4 separate regions of the Homo sapiens genome follow, and regions 2, 3 and 4 are each linked to region 1. The links are contacts of gene promoters, found by promoter capture Hi-C in blood cells and fetal thymus (Javierre and others, 2016). All regions are on one chromosome and are shown on one strand. Each heading gives the region's core, a stretch centred on a gene start or on the middle of the fragment in contact. The rest is flanking DNA. Distances are from core to core; before and after follow the strand shown.

What was found. The method cuts DNA at HindIII sites, captures the fragments that hold promoters and counts their contacts. A CHiCAGO score of 5 or more calls a contact.
Region 2: a fragment that was not itself captured here is called in contact with the fragment with the promoter of NXNL1 in region 1 in 4 of 17 cell types (naive CD8 T cells, erythroblasts, M2 macrophages and 1 more); the score reaches 5.7 in naive CD8 T cells.
Region 3: the fragment with the promoter of SLC5A5 here is called in contact with the fragment with the promoter of NXNL1 in region 1 in 3 of 17 cell types (naive CD4 T cells, M0 macrophages and erythroblasts); the score reaches 5.5 in naive CD4 T cells.
Region 4: a contact is called between the fragment with the promoter of B3GNT3 here and the fragment with the promoter of NXNL1 in region 1, in 1 of 17 cell types (endothelial precursors). The highest score is 5.3, in endothelial precursors.

What each region holds. Positions count from the first base shown.
Region 1 is chr19:17,459,433-17,462,541 of GRCh38, reverse strand. NXNL1 (nucleoredoxin like 1) reads left to right here and starts at 1,616. Exons shown (of 2, transcript NM_138454.2): 1 at 1,616-1,998. The coding sequence starts at 1,673. RefSeq lists an enhancer at 1,210-1,710. The HindIII fragment of the contact is 2,658 bases long and covers 808-3,109 here.
Region 2 is chr19:17,911,994-17,915,102 of GRCh38, reverse strand. No RefSeq gene overlaps it. Among named protein-coding and RNA genes, the nearest start is that of CCDC124, 19 kb to the left of the region's middle. The HindIII fragment of the contact is 4,460 bases long and covers 1-3,109 here.
Region 3 is chr19:17,870,361-17,873,469 of GRCh38, reverse strand. SLC5A5 (solute carrier family 5 member 5) reads right to left here and starts at 1,525. Exons shown (of 15, transcript NM_000453.3): 1 at 794-1,525. The coding sequence starts at 1,150. The HindIII fragment of the contact is 10,072 bases long and covers 1-3,109 here.
Region 4 is chr19:17,793,614-17,796,722 of GRCh38, reverse strand. It overlaps B3GNT3 (UDP-GlcNAc:betaGal beta-1,3-N-acetylglucosaminyltransferase 3), which reads right to left and starts at 1,585. Exons shown (of 3, transcript NM_014256.4): 1 at 1,517-1,585. RefSeq lists enhancers at 992-1,689, 1,690-2,387. The HindIII fragment of the contact is 23,173 bases long and covers 1-3,109 here.

The DNA.
Region 1 (3,109 bases), core at 367-2,866:
ACTGCAGCCTCCGCCTCTTGGGTTCAAGCAATTCTCCTCCCTCAGCCTCCCAAGTAGCTGGGATTACAGGCATGCACCACCACGCCTGGCTAATTTTTGCTTTTTTTTTTTTGAGATGTAGTCTCGCTCTGTTGCCCAGGCTGGATGGAGTGCAGTGGTGCAATCTCAGCTCACTGCAACCTCTGCCTCCCAGGCTCAAGCAGTTCTCCTGCCTTAGCCTCCCGAGTAGCTGGGATTACAGGCATGTGCCATCACGAGCCGCTAATTTTTGTATTTTCAGTAGAGATGGGGTTTCACCATGTTGGCCAGGCTGGTTTCGAACTCCTGACCTCAGGTGATCCGCCTGCCTCAGCCTCCCAAAGCGCTGGGATTACAGGCATGAGCCACCACACCCGGTCTAATTTTTGCTTTTTTTTTTTTTTTGAGACGGAATCTCACTCTGTCACCCAGGCTGGAGTGCAGTGGCGCGGTCTCGGCTCACTGCAAGCTCCACCTCCCGGGTTCACGCCATTCTCCTGCCTCAGCCTCCCGAGTAGCTGGGACTACAGGTGCCCGCCACCACACCCGGCTAATTTTTTTTGTACTTTTAGTAGAGACGGGGTTTCACTGTGTTAGTCAGGATGGTCTCGATCTCCTGACCTTGTGATCCACCTGCCTCAGCCTCCCAAAGTGCTGGGATTACAGGCGTGAGCCACCACACCTGGCCAATTTTTGCATTTTTAGTAGAGATGGGGTTTCTCCATGTTGGCCAGACTGGTCTCGAACTCCTGACTTCAGGTGATCCACCCACCTTGACCTCCCAAAGCTTTGGGATTACAGGCGTGAGCCACCGTGCCCAGCCTATTTTTTATTTTTAGACACTAGGTCTTGCTCTGTCACCCAGGATGGAGTGCAGTAGTGCAGTCATTGTAGCCTCAACCTCCCAGGCTCAAGTGATCCTTCCATCTCAGCTGAGTAGCTGGGACTACAGGCTCATGACAACACCATGCCCAGCTAAGTTTTTAATTTTTTCATAGAGATGGGGTCTCACACTGTTGCCCAAGCTGCTCTCAAACTCCTGGTCTCAGGTGATCCTCCTGCCTCAGCCTCCCAAAGTGCTGAGATTACAGGCGTGAGTCACTGTCTGCTACATGGTTTTTTGGTTTTTTTTCTTTCTTTCTTTCTTTTTTTTTCTGAGATGGAGTCTCGCTCTGTCGCCCAGGCTGGAGTGCAGTGGCACAATCTCAGCTCACTGCAACCTCCGCCTCCTGGCTTCAAGCGATTCTCCTGCCTCGGCTGCCCAAGTAGCTGGGATTACAGGTGCCCACCACCACGCCTGGCTAATTTTTTTATTTTTTAGTACAGACAGGGTTTCACCATGTTGGCCAGGCTGGTCTCAAACTCCTGACCTCAGATGATCCTCCCACCTCTGCCTCTCAAAGTGCTGGGATCACAGGCGTGAGCCACCGTGCCCATCTGTTACGTGTTTTCTTAATGCGTTTGCGGCTCTCTCCTGAGAAGGGCCACACAGAGAGCCCTGCCCCCCGCCCTTAGAGGCCCCTCAGGTCAAGGTTTAGGCAGATTAGTGAAGTCCTAAGCTGGTTTTCTAAAGATTTCTATTTCTGGGAGAGGAGCCAGTCAGCAGACCGGGGACCACACGCCGCGCTGTCCCCAGCACCCAACCCAGGTTACCATGGCCTCCCTGTTCTCTGGCCGCATCCTGATCCGCAACAATAGCGACCAGGACGAGCTGGATACGGAGGCTGAGGTCAGTCGCAGGCTGGAGAACCGGCTGGTGCTGCTGTTCTTTGGTGCTGGGGCTTGTCCACAGTGCCAGGCCTTCGTGCCCATCCTCAAGGACTTCTTCGTGCGGCTCACAGATGAGTTCTATGTACTGCGGGCGGCTCAGCTGGCCCTGGTGTACGTGTCCCAGGACTCCACGGAGGAGCAGCAGGACCTGTTCCTCAAGGACATGCCAAAGAAATGGCTTTTCCTGCCCTTTGAGGATGATCTGAGGAGGTGAGGAGGGGCAGGGAGGGCTTCCTGGAGGAGGGGGCATGTTCGCTGAAAGTGAAGCATCCATTCTAACTAGAGTGAATGAGCAGCCCCTGTGTGCCAGTCCATATACTGGGAACTAGGGGGTACAGACAGGGGTGCCCACTTCCACATGCTGGCTTCCATGCCACCCCAGGGAGCTTAGAGCCGAGTGAGAGGAACAGATGCAAAAGACAGAATCAACTATGTAATAGCAAGGCCGGGCATGGTGGCTTAACCCTGTAATCCCAGGACTTTGGCAGGCCGAGGTGGGCAGATCACCTGAGGTCGGGAGTTTGAGACAAGCCTGGTCAACATAGTGAAACCCTGTCTCTACTAAAAATACAAAAATTATCCAGGCGTGGTGGTGGGCGCCTGTAATCCCAGCTGCTTGGGAGGCTGAGGCAGGAGAATCGTTTGAAACTGGGAGGCAGATGCTGCAGTGAGGTAAGATCGTGCCACTGCCCTCCAGCCTGGGTGACAGAGGGAGACTCTGTCTAAAAAATCAAAAAACAAATATATAATAGCGAATTGCAGTAGTGCTCAGAGGACAAAGCTAGGCCACAAAGTGGAAATACAATGAGGGAAACCTTGGTGAGGTTCCGGGGTCAGAGGATGCTTCCCCGAAAAAGTGGCTTTAAAGAGAGACCCCTAGCTGGGCACGGTGGCTCATGCCTGTAGTCCTAGCCACCTGGGAGGCTATGGTAAGAGGATAACTGGAGCCTAGAGTTTGAGGCTGCAGTGAGCTATGATCGCACCACTGCACTCCAGCCAGGGCAATACAGGTAGACCCTGTCTCTTAAAAAAGTAAGGCCAGGTACGGTGGCTCACACCTGTAAATCTAGCACTTTGGGAGGCCAAGGTGAGCAGATCACCTGAGGTCAGGAGTTCGAGACTAGCCTGACCAATATGGCAAAACCCTGTCTCTACTAAAAATACAAAAATTAGCCAGGCCTGGTGGCGCACAGCTGTGGTCCCAGCTACTTGCGAGGCTGAGGCAGGAGAATTGCTTGAATCCAGGAGGCGAAAGTTGCAGTGATCCGAGATGGTGCCACTGCACTCCAGCCTGGGCAACAGAGTGAGACTCTGTCTCAAA
Region 2 (3,109 bases), core at 229-2,728, 450 kb before region 1:
TAGCCACCTTTTTTTTTTTTTTTTTTTTTTTTTAGCAGGGTCTTGTTCTATCACCGAGGCTGGAGTGCTGGGGTGATCTTGGCTCACTGCAGTGTCCATCTCCCAGGCTCAAGCAATCCTCCCACCTCAGCCTCCTATGTAGCAGGGACCTCAGGTGTGTGCCTCCAACAGCTGGCTATTTTTTTGTATTTTTTTGTAGAGATAGGGTTTCACCATGTTGTGCTATCTGGTCTTGAATTCCTGAGCTTGACTGATTCTCCCACCTTGGCCTCCCAAAGTGCTGGGATTACAGGTGTGAACCACTGCACCTGGCCACCCCCACTTCTTTAAAAAAATAGTACTTAAAAAAATGTTTTTGAGATGACATTTTCACTCTTGTTGCCCAGGCTGGAGTGCAATGGTGCAATCTCGGCTCACTGCAACCTCCGCCTCCTGGGTTCAAGTGATTCTTCTGTCTCAGCCTCCTGAGTAGCTGGGATTACAGGCACATGCCACCACACCCAGCTAATTTTTGTATTTTTAGTAGAGACGGGTCTTGAACTCCTGACCTCAGGTGATCTGCCCACCTTGGCCTCCCAAAGTGCTGGGATTACAACCATGAGCCACTGCGGCCAGCCACCATTTTTTTTTAAGATGGGGTCTTGCTCTGTTGCCCAGCCTGGAGTGCAATGATGCGATCTTGGCTCACGGCAACCTCCACCTCCTGGGCTCAAGCGATTCTCCCATTTCAGCCTCCTAAGTAACTGGGACCACAGGTGCACACCACTATGCCCAGCTAATTTTTTGTATTTTTTGTAAAGATGGGGTTTCACCATGTTGCCCAGGCTGGTCTCAAACTCCTGAGCTCAAGTGATCTTCCCACCTTGGCCTCCCAAAGTGCTGGGATTACAGGAGGGGACTCTGTGCCCAGCCTAAGGGAGTCTTGATTTACAGCCAGTGCATTAGAAGTACAGGTGAAAACCTACTGTTTGCAGATGGCATCTGCAGTAGGGACCATCTTGTGGGACTGAGCCCTTAACCTATGGGATCTGATACTATCTTCAGGTAGATAGCTTCTGAACTGAATTGAATTTAAAAACACCCACCTAAAAAAATAAAAAGACAAAAAAATCAAACAAAAAACCCCACCCAGCTGGTGTCTGCTGGAGAATTACTTGACGTTTGGAAAAGTTCCCATACATCTGGTGTCAGAAATGTTGTGTTAAGGCTGGGCACAGTGGCTCATGCCTGTAATCCCAGCACTTTGGGAGTCTGAGGCTGGCAGATCACCTGAGGTCAGGAGTTCGAGACCAGCCTGGGCAACATGGTGAAACTCCATCTCTACTAAAAATACAAAAGTTAGCTGGGCATGGTGGTGCATACCTGTAGTCCCAGCTACACGGGAGGCCGAGGTAGGCGAATCGTTTGAACCCGGGAGGCAGAAGGTTGCAGTGAGCAGAGATCACGCCATTGCACTACAGCCTGGGTGACAGAATGAGACTCCGTCTCAAAAAAGAAAAAAGAAAAGAAAGGAATGTTGTGTTGAGTGATGTGTGAGCAGAAAAAAAAATTAATTTATGTTTTCTTTTTACTTTTGGTGTCAGAAGTGGGATTTGGACTTGGTGCAGATCTTAAGTGTAATAATACACTATCTCAATGATATTATGATATTGTTGGAAACTGAAGATCAGGCTAGGACTGAGTTGAATGCAGTGGGGACCCACATGACCAACCAAAGCTGGCTAATAGCTGTCCAAATGGTGAAATTCTTAGAATAGGCCAGGCGCCGGTGGTTCAAGCATGTAATCCCAGCACTTTGGGAGGCCGAGGTGGGTGGATCACCTGAGATGAGCAGTTCAAGACCAGCCTGGCCACCATGGTGAAATGCCGTCCCTACTAAAAATACAAAACTTAGCTGGGTACGGTGGCAGGTGCCTGTAATCCCAGCTACTTGGGAGGCTGAGGCAGGAGAATTGCTTGAACTGGGGAGGTGGAGGTTGCAATGAGCCAAGATCACATCACTGCACTCCAGCCTGGGCGACAGAGTAAGACCTTGTCTTAAAATAAAAAAAAAAGAAAAAAGAAATTCTTAGAATAATCTAGGCAGGAGCCACCCAGGATAGTCCACAACTGACTAAAAATAAATTGCTGGCCAGGTGTGGTGGCTCACACCTGTAATCCCAGCACTTTGGGAGGCCGAGGTGGGTGGATCACCTGAGCTCAGGAGTTTGAGATTAACCTGACCAACATGGAGAAATCCCATCTCTACTAAAAATACAAAATTAGCTGGGGGTAGTGGTGCATGCCTGTAATCCCAGTTACTCGAGAGGCTGAGGCAGGAGAATCGCTTGAACCCAGGGGGTGGAGGTTGCAGTGAGCCAAGATCACACCACTGTATTCTAGCCCGTGTGACAGAGCAAGACTCCACCTCAAAAAAAAAAAAAAAAAAAAGAAAGAAAGAAAGAAAAAAAGAAACAGCCGTCGTTACCTAACCCCAGGACCAAACAAGAAACGTCAGTGTTTCTGGAGTCTCCAACAGGACTCAGTCCCAACACCTCTGCTCCCCATGAATTCAGAGAATAGCACTGGGGCTGGAAGGGCCTTCAGTAGGTCCAAGGCCAGCATGCACAAGACCCACTGCCCAGAGAAGAGGGAGATTTGGGTCCTCCAGTGGTCCCCAAGCCAGTTTCTTTGACAGATTGAGGAGGTCCAAGCAAGCTGGTAGCCTCTGTGTCCCCCAGCCTCAGGCCTCAGTGTCTGGCACTCCAGCTTCACAGGCGTTTGCAGTGGGGCATCCTCAGGGAATAAAAAGTTTTGTGAAGACCTGGAGATCTTTTTTCAAAAGCACAATTACAGGTTTTCACACAGACTAGTCTTCATTCATACCTAAAACTCTCATTTCTGGTAGAAAATATGCACCAGTGAAAAACAGGGCATGGGGCTGGGTGTGGTGGCTCATGCCTATAATCCCAGCACTTTGGGAGGCTGAAGCAGGAGGATTGCTTCAGCCCAGGAGTTCAAGACCAGCCTGGGCAACTTAGTGAGTTGCTGTCTCTACAAAAGATAAAAAATTAGCTGGGCATGGTGGTGTGTGCCTATAGTCCCAGCTACTCGGGAGGCTGAGGTGGGA
Region 3 (3,109 bases), core at 276-2,775, 410 kb before region 1:
TTTTTTTTTCCTTTGAGACAAGAGTCTCGCTCTGTCGCCCAGGCTGGAGTGCAGTGACGCGATATCGGCTCACTGCAACCTCCCGGGTTCAAGCAATTCTCCTGTCTTAGCCTCCCAAGTAGCTGGGATTACAGGTGCCCACCACCACATCCGGCTAATTTTTGTATTTTTAGTAGAGACGGGGTTTCGCCATGTTGGCCAGGCTGGTCTTGAACTCCTGACCTCAGGTGATCTGCATGCTTTGGCCTCCCAAAGTGCTGGGATTACAGGCGTGAGCCACCGCACCGGGCCCCGGTCACGATTTTAATCGCTTTACCCTCTCCCCTGGAGGGAGGTCCTGTAATTCGCCCATTGGACAGCTGGGAAACCCAAACAGAGAGGCACGCCCCTTGCCCAAGATACAAGAAAGCAGTGAAGCCAGGTTTCGAACCCCGGAGCCGTCAGCAGTCCCCTCTAGCGCGCACACGTGGGTCTGCACGCCCGGGCAGGTGGGGGGCAGGTGTGTGTCCACCCGTGAGGACACACCTGGTCGAGCCGGGCCCCGCCCCGCGCGCGCTTCCACCGAAGGAGCAGGACGCCAGGCTCTCTCTTCCTCCTTCCTGCCCCTCGCCGGGCGCCTGGGGCCTCTTCCTAGAACCCTCCCCACGTGTCTGCCTAGGGGCCCCTTCCGTTAAAGCACCGAGGTGCCATCCGCGTCCTCCTGTACAGCGGCCCAAAGCCCCAGCGCCTCCCCCACACGGGGTCCCAGCACTGCCAGTGGGGCAGGTCCTACCCCCGGGCCTCTGTCCGGTACCTCGTAGGTGCTGGTGAGGCCCAGGCGGTAGAAGACGGGCATGAAGAGCAGGGCGGTGAGGACCGAGTTCAGAAGCTGGCCCAGGCACATCCAGAGGAACTTGAGGCCATAGCGATAGGCCTCCGACGGCACGCCCAGCACCTGCACGGCCGACATGAAGCTGGCAGACAGCGACAGGCCCACGGGCAGGGCCGCCAGGCGCCGGCCCCCGGTGAAGAAGTCCTCAGCGCTGCGCTGCCCGCCCCGAGCCAGCCCGACCCACAGCCCGATGCCAGTGGACACCAGGAGCATGAGGGCAAAGACCCCGTAGTCCCAGGCTCCGAAGGTGGGCCGTTCCCCGGTCTCCACGGCCTCCATGAGGGCGGGTGCGGAGGCCCAGCGCGTCCTCGGACGCCCTGCGTGCTCAAGCGGGGGAAGCTGGCAGGGGCCGAGGAGGCAGGACGGGGAGGGCGGGTGGGAGGATGCTCGGCAGCCTGTCCCCGCTCCGTCTGGGGTGGGAAGCGGCGAGAGGGGCCGGGGCTCCCTGGGTTAGGAATCTATGGGCTGTCGATGTCCGTGTCGGCCTCCCTGTCCCCGCTGTCTGTCTCTGCGTCCGCCCCTGCTGTCTGTCTGTCCTGCCACCTCCCCTCTCACTCTGGGTTCCGCTGTCCCATGCAGCCGGCTGTCTGTCCCTCTCCCTGGGCGCTGTGCTCAGCGCTGACAGCTGGAGGTCGCCTTGGGGCTTACGGGAGCAGCTCGTGATTGTGGGTTGCAGATTTATTGGGCTCCCGGGTCACCGCGACTCCGCCTCCAGACCTAGGGGCGGGCAGGACCCGCACCCTTTCAGCCCTGGACTGGGACAGACAGGCCAGGACAGGCTATCTGGGTGGCTGCAGGGGGTGGTATCGGGGAGGGCTCCCAAATGCCCCTCCATCCCCATGCACCCACCCATCCCCATGCACTGTGATCCCCTGATCACAGCTGTCACTGTCTGCTGTTGACAGGTGGGGAAATTGAGGCTCAGAGAGGGCATGTCACTATCCAAGCCTGCACAGCCTGCTTCAGCACTCAAAGCCGTATTGTGCTTGAATACCTTGAGCTATGGGGAGCTCACTTTCATGCAGGACTGGGGTTCACTTTCAGGGTTTCAGGGGACCCATAAAGAAAACTTACCTGGCTTTACCACCCCCAAACTGGCATGTGGGCCTACCCCCTTTCTCTAGAGCCTTAGGGGGTGGGCATCACTGAACCCCGCTCTTGGGCTAAGCTGGGTGGGAGACATTCAGAGCTCAAGTTCTGAGTGGGTACATACTTGGGGAAGACTTTGCTCCTCCCTGGGCCTTAGTTTCCCCATCTGTAACAAGGATAAAATAGACCCTGCCTCAGAGGAATAAATGGGACGTGGTAACGAAAGCCTGGTACATGATAAGTGCCTCATTCATTTATTCCTTTATTCATTTGTCACTTCATTCATTCATTCATTGGTTCCTTTGCAGATATGCACTGAGAGTTGGCCCTGTGCCAGGCATAAATGGCTCACTGAGGTGGTGCGAGGGGCCTTTAAGGTTATGAACCCGAATAAGCGGAGACCATGACCACCAGGGAGGTAGAGTCTGGCTTGTCCCTATCATATAGATGAGGAAACCAAGGTTGGGTGTGGGAGAAAGTCTACTGGGGGGGTCACGCTTCCATGAGGACCAACGAGCTGTCATCTCAGGGCCCTTCTCTGGGGGACCCAGGAGGACTTTGACCTCTGGAGGTTCTGGTCTCTGGGTTCAAGTCTCAGCTCAGCCTCCAACTTTCTGGGCAATCACGCATCTCAAACTTGGTTCCCTTCTCCATAAGCTGGTGGAATCTGAAATCCTGGGGGTTGAAAGAAACAGCGTCAGAGGCCGGGCATGATGGCTTATGCCTGTAATCCCAGCACTTTGGGAGGCTGAAGTGGGAGGATCATTTGAGTCCCAGAATTCGAGACTACCCTGAGCAACATAGTGAGATCTTGTCTGTATGAAAAATACAAATATTAGCGAGGCGTGGTGGCACATGCCTGTAATCCCAGCTACTCAGGAGGCTGAAGTGGGAGGATCGCTTGAGCGTGGAAGTTCGAGGCTGCAATGAGCTGTGGTCGAGAACTGCACAGCACTCCAGCCTGGGCAGCACAGCAAGACCCCGTCTCCAAAAAAAAAAAAAAAAAAAAAAAAAGGGCTTTTGAGCGCTTCTCGCCAGCCTCTGCTGCTCCCTGGTGGCCTCCTCTGGCCTACCCTCTGCCCTGGCCGCTCCAGCTGGGTCCAGCGTTTCTCAACGCGTCCCCACGTAACCCCCGGACAGTCCTCTTGC
Region 4 (3,109 bases), core at 336-2,835, 330 kb before region 1:
GCCAGGAAATGCCACACCCTAGGGGTGAGAGTGAGGGAGGGTGTCCAGGCTGGACTGAGCAAACACCCAACTGCTCACCTAGGCCATATGGGGGCCCAGCTGCCTGACCTGGGGGCCACACCTCTTCCTCCTGACACCAGCCCTGCCTGGTGTCACCTTGAGAACAGGCCAGTGGGAGGAAGTGATGGCCCCCAGGGCTGGCCCCAGACCTAGACGGCCAGGTGGCTTCCCATGGGCCCTGAATCCCAGATCTGGACTGCAGGAGTCCCCCGCCCAAGTTGAGGGGCGACCTCAGTTTCCTCTTGAGAAGTGTCCATTTAAAAAAATCAGAGCTGGGCATAGTGGCTCATGCCTGAAATCCCAGCACTTTCAGATGCCAAGGCAGGAGGATTGCTTGGGCCCAGGAGTTTGAGACCAGCCTGGACAACATAGTGAGACCCCGTCTCCACACACAAAAAAATTTTAAAATTAGCTGCCTGTGGTGTGCACCTGTAGTCCCAGCTACTCGGGAGGCTGAGGTGGGAGGATCACTTGAGCCCAGGAGGTTGAGGCTGCAGTGAATACAGTGCATGGAGCCACTGTACTCCAGCCTGGGTGACAAAGTGAGTCCCCCACCTCTACAAATAAAACAAACAAACAAAAAGTTTAAATCTGACCCAGAGGAAAAGATGGTCGGGATTCTTGGAACAGGAGTGAATCTGAACAGTGGCTACAGACATAATTAATATAATTATGATGACAGCTGACTGTCCCTGGGCACCCACTGAGTGGCCACAGCTCCTATCCACTCAACTCATCCTCGCCAAGGTCCCATGCCATGAGACCCCCCCTTAACACACAGGGAAACTGAGGCTCAGAGACCTAACGCCAGTCACGCAAGGGCCCCCAGTGGCCAGCAGTACACCTCATCACAAAAATTTCCTTTGACTAAACGCTTCGGGCATCCTCATCCCAGCTGGTTCATTGTTCCACCTCACGGAGGGGAAACTGAGGCCGGTTCAGCAATGTGTCCATGCCACGCAGCCAGGGCCCCTGGAATGCCGCCCAGCCACCTGGCAGGGCCTGCAGCACCGGAACCGCAGGGAGAGACTGGGGGTCACCTGCAGTTCCCAAACCCAACCGGGGACCCCAGCGCTGGCTTGCCCAGATACTCCCAACCAAGGGGCCAATAATCTCAACAACACAGGTAACAGTAACAGCCAAGTCTGACTAAGCGGCATCCGCCTCGGGGGTCTGATCCCGCCCAATCTGGGAGGGGCGCCGGGGTCCCGGGTCGCCAGCTGTGGGGGAGGCTTCCTCCCCGACCCAGGTCCGAGCTGGCCTTGGGAACGCCGGAGACAATTACGGATGGGTGAGGGCAACCGGGTTCTCGAGACTCGGGGCTCCCGAATGTTCCCACATCTGCAGGGTATGCGCGGTGGAGACCGGCAGGGGCTTCTCCAGAGCCACAACTTCCCCACCCCCAAACCCCCACCACTGGGGTCCGCCAGATCCTCCGGGGGCTGCCGACACTCACCCCCAGACGACAGTCCCGCCTCTGCCCCTCTACCTGCTCCTCTCAGCTCGCGAGCCGAAGAAAGAGTTTTTACCTGAGCCAGAGCTCCCGCCCCTCTCCCGCTTCCTCCCTCCCACCGGGCCTCACGCCTTCCTGCCTCCCTCCGCCTTGGCCGCTTGCCAGTCCCCCTCTTCCCAGCTCGGCTGAGTTTCCTGGTGGCCCAGGCGAAGTTCTCTGCCGGCTCCTCCCTCCCCGGCCATGCCTCTTCCCCTCTCCGGTCCCGGCTGCCACCTCTGCCATCCCGCTCTTGCCACCCTCGCCCCTCTCGGGGCTCACGACCCCACCTTGGGTCTGGCCCGCTGCTAGGGAATGAGCTCCCCGTGGCTGGAGATGAACAAGCAGCGCCTTGCGGGTTCCTGGCACAGAGCCCGGTCAGCGTTGGCCCACGTGTGTTCCGTGAAGAAATGATTGGATAAGCCCATGGCGATAAGGAGGGAGGGAGGCAGGTTAAACCTTGCGGCACCTCTGCTCTCTGCGGGGAGTTCAAAGATTCCTGAAGCTGGGGTCGGCGCAGTGGCTCACTCCTGTACTTCCAGAGGCCGAGGGGGGCGGATCGCTGGAACCCAGGAGTTTGAGACCAGCCTGGGCAACATAGTGAGATTCCATCTCTATATTGAAAATAATTCCAGGACCCGAAAACCTACGATGTGCCCCCAGACATCCAGATGCCACCTGCTGGCATTTGGAAGGGTTCTGGAAGTCAACAATCAGACAGATTTGTAGTCTTTTCTTTTTCTTTTTTTCTTGTTTTGAGAGACAGGATCTCGCTTTGTCACCCAGGCTAGAGTACAGTGGTGTGATCTCCGCTCGCTACAATGTCGACCTCCCCAGTTCAAGCAATCCTCCCACCTCAGCCTCCCGAGTAGCTGGGACTACAGGCACCCGCCAGCATGCCTGGCTAATTTTTGTCATTTTTCTAGATATGGGGTTTTGATATGTTGCCCAGGCTGGTCTTAACTGTGGGCCTCAAGTGACCTTCCTGCCTCAGATCCCCAAGGTGCTGGATTATAGATGTGAGCCACTGCACCTGGCCTCAGATTTGTAGATTTTTAGGGTTGGGTTGGCTAGGATTCGAACCCTGCCCTGTGCTGCCTCTGAATCTCTAGGAGATTCTAGCCTGGACCCAGCGTTGGGAGCTCTGGGGTTGGGGAAGTCCAGGTGTGTGAGCTGGGCTATGGTTTCAGGAAACCCCTCCTTCCTCCTTCATCCCTGTTTCTTCCCGAGGAGGAAGCCGAGGTGTATATGTGGCCTGTCTGTGCCTCAGTTTCCTCACCTGTAAAATGTAAGAAATAGCCCCTGGGTACTCTGGATGGGAGAGGTCTGGGGAGTGAACCCTCAGAGCAAATGCATGATTAAAACTGTATGGAGGGCAATTACCGGAAATGTCATAGTGTCAAATGTGGCACTACTGGCCTCGGTTCTGGATGCACACACTTTCTTACTGTGGTACATCCTTGGACTTTGATTCAGAGTCTATGCTCACCCTGTTGGGTCCCTGGGTTCACCAAGTCATGGCCCCAGGAAGGGATTTGTCGGCCGGGAAGGAGCCGGAAC